4 separate regions of the Homo sapiens genome follow, and regions 1, 3 and 4 are each linked to region 2. The links are contacts of gene promoters, found by promoter capture Hi-C in blood cells and fetal thymus (Javierre and others, 2016). All regions are on one chromosome and are shown on one strand. The core of a region is centred on a gene start or on the middle of the fragment in contact, and the rest is flanking DNA. Distances in the headings are between cores, read along the strand shown.

Evidence for each region. Contacts are between HindIII fragments. The CHiCAGO score rates a contact against its expected background, and 5 or more counts as called.
Region 1: a contact is called between a fragment that was not itself captured here and the fragment with the promoter of RNASEL in region 2, in 2 of 17 cell types (erythroblasts and M1 macrophages). The highest score is 7.5, in erythroblasts.
Region 3: a fragment that was not itself captured here is called in contact with the fragment with the promoter of RNASEL in region 2 in 5 of 17 cell types (erythroblasts, M0 macrophages, M1 macrophages and 2 more); the score reaches 11.6 in erythroblasts.
Region 4: a contact is called between a fragment that was not itself captured here and the fragment with the promoter of RNASEL in region 2, in 4 of 17 cell types (M1 macrophages, M2 macrophages, M0 macrophages and 1 more). The highest score is 6.7, in M1 macrophages.

Annotation. Positions count from the first base shown.
Region 1 is chr1:182,125,482-182,128,181 of GRCh38, forward strand. No RefSeq gene overlaps it. Among named protein-coding and RNA genes, the nearest start is that of ZNF648, 65 kb to the left of the region's middle. The HindIII fragment of the contact is 3,573 bases long and covers 1-2,700 here.
Region 2 is chr1:182,587,820-182,590,519 of GRCh38, forward strand. RNASEL (ribonuclease L) reads right to left here and starts at 1,437. Exons shown (of 7, transcript NM_021133.4): 1 at 1,348-1,437. RefSeq lists an enhancer at 1,153-1,312. The HindIII fragment of the contact is 1,344 bases long and covers 179-1,522 here.
Region 3 is chr1:182,079,337-182,082,036 of GRCh38, forward strand. No RefSeq gene overlaps it. Among named protein-coding and RNA genes, the nearest start is that of ZNF648, 19 kb to the left of the region's middle. The HindIII fragment of the contact is 317 bases long and covers 1,193-1,509 here.
Region 4 is chr1:182,096,758-182,099,457 of GRCh38, forward strand. No RefSeq gene overlaps it. Among named protein-coding and RNA genes, the nearest start is that of ZNF648, 36 kb to the left of the region's middle. The HindIII fragment of the contact is 935 bases long and covers 837-1,771 here.

The sequences.
Region 1 (2,700 bases), core at 103-2,602, 460 kb before region 2:
AATAGAACTACCAGATGAGCCAGCAATCCCTTTTCTTGGTATATACCTGAAAGAGATGAAAATATATCCACCCCCATACTCATTGCAGCATTATTCGCAATGCCAGGATAATCAAAGTGTCTGTTGACAGACGAATGGCTAAAGAAACTGTAGTACATATACACAATGGAATACTATTCAGCCTAAAAAAGAATGAGATCCTGCCATTTGTAAAAACATGGATGAACCTGGAGGGCATTATGCTAAGTGAAATAACTAAACACAGAAAGAGAAATACTGTATGATCTCACTTACATATGAAATATTTTTTTAAGTTGAATATACGGAGGTAGAGAATAAAAAAGTAATTACAAGAGCAGGGGCTGGGGAGGAAGGAAATAGGGAGATATAGGTCAAAATATAAAAAGCAGCAGATATGTAGAATGAACAAGTATAGAGATCTAATGTACAGCATGAAGACTACAGCTAATAGTATTGTATTATATTGGGGATTTTTGCTAAAAGAGATTTTAGTTGCTCTTGCCTCACACACACACAAAAATGAGTAATGATGTGAGATGATGGATATGTTAATTTGCTTGACTACAGTAACCATTTCACTATGTACATCAAAATGTCATCTTGCACACCTTAAATATATACAATAAAATTTAAATAAATTGCAAAAAAAATAGTAAGAATCATTTCTTGAATACCTACTATGTCCCTGGCACTCATCTGGGTAGTGTTCTGGTAGCATTCTAGGTGTATCTAGGGGATAGATTAGAGAAAAAGCAGATGAAAATTCCTACCCTGGTGGAGCTTATATCTTTGAATGTCAATTTCACACATTCAGTACAAAAGGGCATGCTGATATTTATCCTCATTGAAGCTGTTGACCTCCTTCAAGGGCTTGTCAATACCAGGACTGCTCAAAATGATTAACCAGATGATTTGGACTGCACTGGAATTTGATTAGTGGTAATTTGAAACATCCAATAATATTTGCCTTGCCTAGTGATAAGCAGATACTTGGCAAAGAGGATGGAGTACAAGCCTTGCTTTATCTCAGAACACAGACATCAGGGACTGTAGGAAAGAATGCTCTAGAAGGAGGTCCCCTCCCTGGGGCAGGCCCTGTGTTGGAATGGAATGCAGATTTCAGGTCGGAGAAGGCAAGTGGAGAAGGCCACTGTCCAGGTCTGTAGGTGGGACAGACACAGAGGGCTGGCTGTTTCCCTTGATGGTTCTCACCAGTAGCCAAAATCAGGGATCTAAAACAGAGTCTTTTAACAGGGCTGCTTTATGGAAGAGAGGGGCTAGAGTCGAAAACCAAAACTGCTCCAAAGTAGTCCAAAGAAGCTAATATGGAAACAGCCATTTTTCATAGACTTATTCATTTAGATTAGGATGATATGAATTGAAGAATCTTTTTTTTTGATATTGGTCAGAGACTTAGTGTAAGAAAATTGGGAATATTAAAAAGAAACAACATTGTGACTGGTCTATGATTTATATTACTAATAGTAAACTGCCATTGCTGAACATGCTTAGAAAACATTTTAAAGAAGCTCTGTAGAACTTAGGCTACAAGACTACAACCTGTATCACTTAAGGAAGTTATTATGCTCATAACATTGCCAACTGATGGAATGTGCCTCTGCTGACTTGTACCCAGGCCAGCCCACACCACAGACTGCAGTCAAGTCTTCTCTGCATGTCTTCATCAGCCCCCCACCCTCTGTTTATTAAGGCCACAGTGGAGCCAGCCTGGAGGAACAGGGCTAGGAAGGAGGGCGTGGATCCAGGAACCCAGTACAAATCACATGCAATTCCTCACTGTCTCTAATTTTTATTCTCCAGTGAAGATCAATGTAGGAGAGAAAGATAAATGCAAGGAGGGCACCTTGGGGAGTTAAGGGAAAGTAATGGTGCTGACTGCATGCTCTGGGAGTTGTTGTCTTCTCATATCTGTGCTAGCAGGGCAATTTTCTTCTTGCAACACCACATTCCCCTCTACCTTAACAGTGGATACCTGAACAGTTTATTTTGCCATTTAAAAAGATGCAGAATACTCCTCTCAATCCTTCAATCATACAGATTACAGGAAAAAAAAAAAGAGATTAATACAAGTAGAAATGAGCCTCGGTTTTGCCTCTGGTGTGTCACTGTAGAGGAATCACCTCTTTTTCTAAGCCCCTCTATTCCCTAGGCAGCACCCTAGGCTGTTGAGGCTACACGCCAGCTGGTGCAGCTCCACAGTACCATTCCTATTTGACAGATCTAAGAGGATCCCAGGTATGTAATAAATGGTCATGAGAGGTTCTGCTGACTGTGGACACCAACATACTTGCAGCTTCATTGAATGCTCTAGAAGGAGGTCCCCTCCCTGGGGCAAGCCCTGTCCTGGTAATGGAATTCAGACTGCAGGTCGGAGGAGGCAAGTGGAAAAGGCTGCTGTCCAGGCCTGCGGGTAAAACAGAGAAATGGCTGGCTGCATCTTCCCTTTCTCTATTTTCTTTCCTCCAGTGTATACAAAGTGCTGATGTAAAATTTTCTGATCTCCATCAGCAATCATCTTCAAATAGCAAAGTGGAGAAGGCAGCAAGAAGGGCAATAAACCCAGGGAAAGAAAAGAAAGAAGTCAGCAGCCATGGAGGGAGGCTCAAGTGAGTGGCAGGGGTGATGAGAAACCTGGCCTCCAGGTAGAGAGCACAATGT
Region 2 (2,700 bases), core at 187-2,686:
ACAATATCTGACTTATGTTTTTTGACTTTGATTTATGATTTTTTGACTTTGCAGTGGTGGAAAAGCAATAAACATTCAGTAGAAACCACACTTCAAGTACACATACAACCATTCTGTTTTTTATTTCAGCATAGCATTCGATAAATACATGAGACATTTAACACTTTATTATAAAATAAGCTTTGAGCTAGATGATTTTGCCCAACTGTAGCCTAATGTAAGTGTTCTGAGCACATTTAAGGTAAGCTAGGATAAGCTATGACGTTCAGTAGATTAGGTGTATTAAATGTGCTTTTGACCTACAATATTTTCAATTTAGGATGGGTTTATCTGTATGTAACCCCATCATAAGTCAAGGAGTATCTGCAGTAGTGAAAAGAGCTTGTACTCTGACCTTAGGGAGATCTAAGTTTGAGCTTGTGGCTGTGTAATTTTTTACTATTACTTCCTGTAACCTTGGATTGTTGAATCTCAATTTTCTATTTCCTGAAATGGAGACAAAAATAAATACAGTCATGTGTGTAAAGTACATTAAAGTATGGAGTGTTGCAAATATTAGCCACTCAATGAATGTTAGAGCTAATTATATCCCGTTATGAAAAAATAAATTGCTTAGTGAATTCTATTCTCCCTACACATGTGCATATAGCTACTACACGAATAGGCAACTGGCAGCTATCAATTTCGTCCAACTGTCAATCAGATCTGAGAATTACAGATCCAGTTCAATCATCAGACAGCCCGAAACTGTTACCTGAATATTTAAATAACTGCATCTGCTATAGAATTCACGAAGCAACCCTTTTTCAGCAATCTCACCACTCTGACAGTTTCAAAGCCTCAGAGGTTAATTGATTAGCCTCTTAGAAGTTTAATTAATTGTGCAACACATACACGATCACCAGGCAATGAAATCTTTGAACCAAAGTGTTTGTGTAGACCGTCCCCATTACAATCAGATGTGAGGTGGGCTGGTATAAACAAAGGAGCCGGGAAGGAGAGGAAATATCAAGGAAGCCCTGAGTGACGCATCAGAGTAGAGAAGAGACGAGCCTGCGGAAGTACTCCAACAGACAATCCTGCTTTCAATTTCACTTTCTCTGTGCGACCTGAGTAAGTCGCAAAGAGATGCCTGAGAAACTGAGGACATGGATAAATGACGTGTGGACTCTGACAGAACTCTGGAAGGGCACTGGAGGAAGATCCTTCCGGGCAGCCAAGGGCTGGGAGCTCCCCTCCCACTTCCCAAGTCCTCCAGCCCCTGGCCTCTCCAGTCTCCAAAGCCCAAGAATTCTTCAGGATCGACTTATCGAGGTTTTCTAGCTTTCCTCCTTCTGCCTGCCTTACCTGCTCAACTCAGACGTCTCAATTATTCCTTTGGCAGCCGCAAAGCCTGGAAGACTGCTTGCAGCCCGAGCAGTTTCCTCCTGCTGCGTCACTGAGTCAGCAGGGCGGAGCCAAGAAAGGAGTGAGGAGTGTGGGAGGGAAAGCAGCCACAGGCTCACTCTGGCACCAGGAGCAAAGCTTCTACTTGCACACCTTCTGGAGGAAAGCAATAGCCACTTTCTGTCTGCTGATGAGGAATGTGATGCCCGGGGTCATGTCACTCACCTCTCAGTCTTGCAGCCTTTCAGGTGGCAGCAGCCAACTGCATCCATCACTCTTGCATCCTTTCTTTGTCATTGCAAATTCTGGTCTTCTTGGAAGAAAGGAATGGAAAGTAAACACATATTGAGCACCTATTGTGTTCCAGACACAATGCTTTACATGCAGCATGGTCCCAGTTAACCCCTGACAATCTTGTTGATTATGAAACGCAGGCTCATAGAAGCTAAGTAAGCCCAAAGCCCAAGCCCTGTCACCTTTCTCAGCTCACTCAACTCACAGCTCTGAGGCAGTGCGGCCTTCTCAGAAGGGTACCGGACTGGCAGTCTGGAGACCTGATCCTACAGCCAGCTCTGTGGCTGCTTAGCTGAGTGACCTCAGGCATGTGATTTAACCATGTAGGGCCTCAGTTCTCTCCTATAACTTGGTTTTGAAGGTTCCTTTCTGCTCTACAAGTTCTGTTCTTGACTATCTTCCTAGCAATGAGCTGTGTACTGTGTACTTAGTGCTGTAGTGGAAAGTATTTCCATCCCCAAAGAATACCCAGTCTTGCTGGGGAGACAAAGCCCTGGGACTTGTGAACAACAAGTAGTGCATGGTCACTTGACGACCACCTGTGTCACACCATCCAGACCCGGGGCCTCTACCACCCCTTATACACCAGGGATTCCCAGGCCTCGCTCTCTAACCCCAGCCTCTCTGCTGAGCTTTAGACCTACAAATCTTGAATATGTGTCAAATGGAAATACTCATCTTTTCCTAAATCTGCCCCTCCTCCCACTTATTCCATCTCCACAGATGGCACCATCACCCGGAGGCCACCCCTCATCCTCATCCCAACACCAAGTCTCTTGCTTTCATCTACAAAGGGATGACCATTCGAGTCCTTGTCATCATTTATAGCAAGAAATTGATGACTTGCTTCCTAGCCCTTCATCCATTGTTCCACCCTGCATCATTGACCCACCATCATTTTCAGGACAAAGTTCAAAAATCCTTAACCCATTATTCATTTAATTAATACTTGTTGGACAGGCGTGGTGGCTCACACCTGTAATCCCAGCACTTTGGGAGGCCAAGGCAGGCAGATCACCT
Region 3 (2,700 bases), core at 101-2,600, 510 kb before region 2:
GGATCAGTTAGGAGTCTTTGCAGTAATCTGGGTGAGGGATGATGGTGGCTTGGACCAGAGTTGTCACAAATGGTGAGAAATGGTCAATTTCTAGATACGTTTTAAAGTTAGAGCTAACATGATTTTGTTATATATTGGCTATGGGGTGTGAGAGAAAGAGAGGAGTCAAGGACAACTCTAAGGTTTTTGGCCTGAACAACCAGAAGGATGGAGCTGCCATTAAGTGAGCAGGGGAAGACTGTGGGAGAAACAGAGTTTAGGAGAGAAAGTCCAGGAGCTTCAGTTTGGATGAGGTTTCCACTTGGAAACATTGATGCGACAGTTGGAGAGGCATCTGGATTTCAAGATGAGGATCTTGGTAGAAAATACAATTTGAATTATCAACGTGTGGATTACACTTAAAGCCATCGGATTCTATGAGTCACCGAGGGAGCGTATACAGTGAAGAGATTCGAGGACTGAGCCCTGGACCAGTCCAATGTTCATAAGTAGGGGAGATGAGAAATGCCCAGCAAAAGAGGTGAAAAGATGTGGACAAAAGGTTTGAAGAGAAGTCAGATGTCTGTGATATTCTGGAGATCAAGGGAAGAAAATGGTTCAAGGAGAAGGGAGTGCCACATGATGTCAAACACTACTGAGAGTTCCTATTAATGAGAACTAAGAATTGGCCATCCAATTAAGCTACATGGGGATCAAACCTGATTGGAGTAGATTTAAGGGAGGAGAGGAATTGTAGTCTGTGAGTCTAAACAGATTATTCAAGGAGTGATTATGTGGGAATAGAGAAATAGGATTGTGTCCTTGGGAAAGTAAGAGAGGATGGGACTCAGGGCCTGTACAGGAGTGGCTTCGGCACAGGCAGCTGGTCCACAGCAAAAGGAGAGCGGAAGTCATGGACACAGGCACAGGGTGTGGCTAGATGTGGAGGTGGCAGCTTGAGGAAGTACTCTTGCTAGGGTTGCTTTTTCTCAGCAAAATAAGAAGCAAGGTCGTTGGCTGAGATGGATGATAGTGGAGGAAGTGTGGGAAGTCTAAAAAGAAAAAAGGCATAAAATATTCATTTGCAGAGTGAATGGGTTCATAATTGCCAGGTAGCAATAAAGGCCCATGCAAGGTTAGTGGTCATGAATTGAAGTTAGGCCAGCCAGGAAGATGGTGTGCTTTCCCCCAACATGTTGGCTGTGTGGGCAGAAGCTTGGAGTTCACCATTGTTAGAGTTTTGCCAGACAAATACAACGAAACTAAAGAAAGGTATAAAGATGAGGGGTTATGAAAAAGAAGTGACTAATGTGATGAAGCATGGAATTGAAGCCAAGTCAGATGCGGAGAGAGAGCCTGAGGGGAGCAGGACGAGTTAAAAGGTGGAAGGGCCAGACTTCCCCTGGGTGGAAGGATGGGTGGTGGTGGGATTTCAGGGGCAGCGAGCTGGGAAGTTTAAGGAGGTGCTGGCCAGAGAGGGAGTTGCACCAAATTGAGACTGCAGAGGGAGTGCAGTTGTTATTGAGGACAAGCTTTAGATTTGGGCCATTTGCATATTTGATACAGTAAAGGACAAGATCCTTGGAGAAGAGGAGCTCACAGACTCAGGGAAGCAAAAAGCCAGCTCCACAGAGTTGTAGTTCTTAGAATGATGACAAGTGGGGTTGGTGAAAATGATGGTGAACCAGGTGCTGAGATCCATATAAGGAATGAGAGGAAGCCCTCTGGGGTTTGTGGGAGACTTCATGGAGGAGTGGTGGATGCCACAGGCTGCTTATTCAAAGCTGGGGAGCTTTAAGAGAGAAAGAATGGTCTGAAATAGCAAAGGAGTGAGGAAGACACTTGCCCCACCTAGTGGTAGGAGGGATGTGGAAGAGAAAATTAATCCTCCACTTGAGAAGGAGCTATTCTCAGAAGAGAGCCATGTTTCATGAGAGCAAAAAGGGGAAGAGAAGATGTTGAGGATATAGGATATTGTTTCTATCCAGTGTAACCTGTTTCAATTACTTCCCACCATGCTTTGAACCTTCCAGACCAAATCCTTTGCCACCTGCCCGCTACCTCTCTACATTCCAGCCACACTGTCCTTAGCATGTTCCTTGGATATATCAAGTTCTTTCCAACCCTGGGGGCTTTGCACTTGCTGCCATGTTCTTTCCTTTCTTGAAATTGTACCTCTTCCCCACCCCAAACCCTTAAGTCTCATGTTGAGTGTCATTTCCTTAAGAAATCTTGCTGAACACCCTCTTTAAATCAGGTGCTGTGCTTGGTGCCACTGAAGCAATAGGAATCCACACACAGTTTCTATCTTCAAGTTAGTTTACAGTCAGATGAAGCAAAGAGGGGAGCAGATGGTTTGAAAGTGCCCTAAGGGCTTCAATGGGGTAAACCCAGAGCACATGGGAGCACACAGGAGAAACTATTAAATGAACCATAGTGGGGGTGGTGGGGGGGGGTGGGGGTGGGGGTGGGGGTGGTAGTGGAGGTGGGCGGTGGGCAGTGGGAGAGTTTCAGAAAATGGCTAAACAGAGGCCTGAGGATGATCAGGAGTTAATGAGGAGAGGGTGGGGGCTACTGAGAGAGTGTGGGGAGCCATGAGCTGGTCAGGATGGCTGGAATGTAGCAGGATATGGGGATGATGCTATAGGGGTGAGTGTCCCACAGCAGACCTGCGGGACATGCTATGGAGTTGGGCTCTTTCCCGGGGTCTCTGGAGGCCAC
Region 4 (2,700 bases), core at 54-2,553, 490 kb before region 2:
CTCTCCAAAGCCAATCTGATTCAGGGAGCCGTGGCTGCTGTACCACAAGACCTTTTTCCCATTGCATTTGGAGTATAGAGATTCAGCTTTCTGCCAATGCCACAATTACTTCTGGTTCAGGGAAGGTCTGAATTCTTGCAGAGATCTAGAAGGAGGTCATCAGTGTGGGCAGAAAATGGTCATAGGAAAGACTGAATGTCCCTACAGCCTTCAGCTGCATGGCCATTTTGCCCTGGGACATGGATAAAGAGAGGAGTAGGAGACCAGAGAGGAGCTATCTGAAGAACAACTATGCCAGCATTCTGCAGGCAAGACAACAGCTTTCCAGGAAATCTGTGGTCACCATAGCAAGATCCTGACCTGGCATCAGCTTTCAGGATGTTGGTGCAGGTTCAGAGGATGCTGTACCTTGTCCCTGAATACCTGGTTTCCTAGAAAGTACATGCAGAAGATGGCTCTGTCTGCATAGAACCTGCTTGGGTGTGCTCAGGTATCTACAGGTTGAAACTCTGAAAGCGGGTCAAGAACCAGGCTGGCCAACAGGAGGCATTTCTAGGATTGTTTTCTAAGAACAGGCATGATAAAATAACCACATTCAAGTTTTCTGTTTCATTCCCCTTATCAAGGGGACAAAGTTTGTAAGTGCTGCTCTGACCTTTACAACCATTGAAGAAGACACTTGACACAGTTTTGATGTCACTCTGAAATGCTCCCCTTGCTTGATTCTCCCTACCTGTTTTTCTAACACCCTATCCCTCCCACTGCACTTTCTCCTCAATCTCACTACCAGAATTTCAGAAAGCAATTCAATGCACAGTAAACCAGTAACAGCCTTAAGCTTTGTCTCTGAGTGACTTTGGTGCCCTACTGGTCCATACAACTTGTGGCAGTAACTTGCTTCTAGCCTGTTGAGCTCAGCAGCAGACCATGATTCACTCGGACAAGGACTGGCCCAACCCACAGTAGACACTGGGCTGGAGCTGGCATTTGTGAAGGCAGAGAATGCCACCCTCCCGTCACTTCAAGGATGCAGCTATTCTAGGGATAAACCCAGATCTGATGGGCTGTGTTTTGGAAAGCAGTTGATAACAGTGTTGTCATAGAAAACACCTACCTGGGGAGTTCCTTGGACCTTTAAAACAACATCTGTTTATTTAGCACAGTGCCTGTCACACAGGAGCCATTCAATAAACATTTCGTGGATATCTGTTGAATTGTTCTATCGACAAGAATTTAATGAACACCCAGAATTAGTTCTAGGTATCCAGGGAGAAATAAAAAGGAAGAGTGGCAAGTCCTGTCTTCAATGATTCTACAATTCAATGGTGAAAAGACTTACACATTGGAAGAGTAAAATCCCACCATGTGGCAGTCTATGATCAGGCATACCTGTGTACTGCAGTCCTGCCAGACTTGAGGGCTTAGAAAAGCTCTGCTTTGCTCAGCTTTTCACACTGACTAGGGTCCTACCCAACGTGCCTGTGGACCATCTGTGAGAACCTATGTAGGAGTGATGACTTTGCCTTGTGAAAGGAGATGGCCACACATCTATCCCTCTAAATGTTAAAGTTCTCCTTGCTCTAATTTGGTTAAAAGCATTTCGTAAGTATTGAAGTTGGTGTCACATAGAAGGATTATAGAGGACACGTTAGTAATGCTCGTCATGTAATGCTCATAACTTTGGCAATGAACATGATGATGGTAATGGGATTGGAATCGCTGTGATGAGGGTTTTTGCTGCTTTGCTAATGAAGAAATCAGTAAGGAATGAAGCTTCCAAAGGTCACACACACACACACACACACACAAACACACACACACATTTTCTTCATCCACTCACCAGTTGGTATATACTTAGGTTGATTCCATATCTTTGCAAGTGTGAATTGTGCTGTTATAAACATACATGTGCAGGTGTCTTTTTGGTATAATGACTTCTCTTCCTTTAGGTAGATACCCAGCAGCGGGATTGCCGGATTGAATGGCAGATCTACTTTTAGTTCTTTGAGAAATCTCTGTACTGTTTCCTATAGAGGTTGTAGTAATTTACATTGCCATCAATGGTGTATAAGCGTTCCCTTTTCACCACATCCGTACTGACATCTATTGCTTTTGTGACTTTTTAGTAATAGTTATTCTGATTGGGATAAGGTGGTATTTCATCATGGTTTAATTTGCATTTCCCTGATGATTAGGAATATCAAGCATTTTTTCATGTTATTTGGCCATTTGTATATCTTCTTTTGAAAAATGTTTGTTCATGTCATTTGCCCACTTTTCAATGGGATTTTTTTTTCCTTTGCTGATTTGTTTGAGTTCCTTGTGGATTCTGGATATTAGTCCTTTGTCAGATGTAGAGTTTGCCAATATTCTCTCCCATCCTATAGGTTATCTATTTACTCTGTTGATTATTTATTTTGGTGTGCAAAAGCTTTTTAGTTTAATTATGTTCCATTTATTTATTTTTGTGTTTATTTTGTTGCATTTGCTTTTGGGGTCTTAGTCATAAATTCTTTGCATAGGCCAACGTCCAGAGAGGTTTTCCTAGATATCCTTCTAGAATTTTTATGGTTTCAGGTCTTAAATTTAATTTAAGTCTTTTAATTCAGCTTGAGTTAATTTTTATATATGGTTAGAGATAGGGATCCAGTTTCCTTCTTCTGTATATGGTAATCCAGTTTTCCCAGCACCATTTATTGA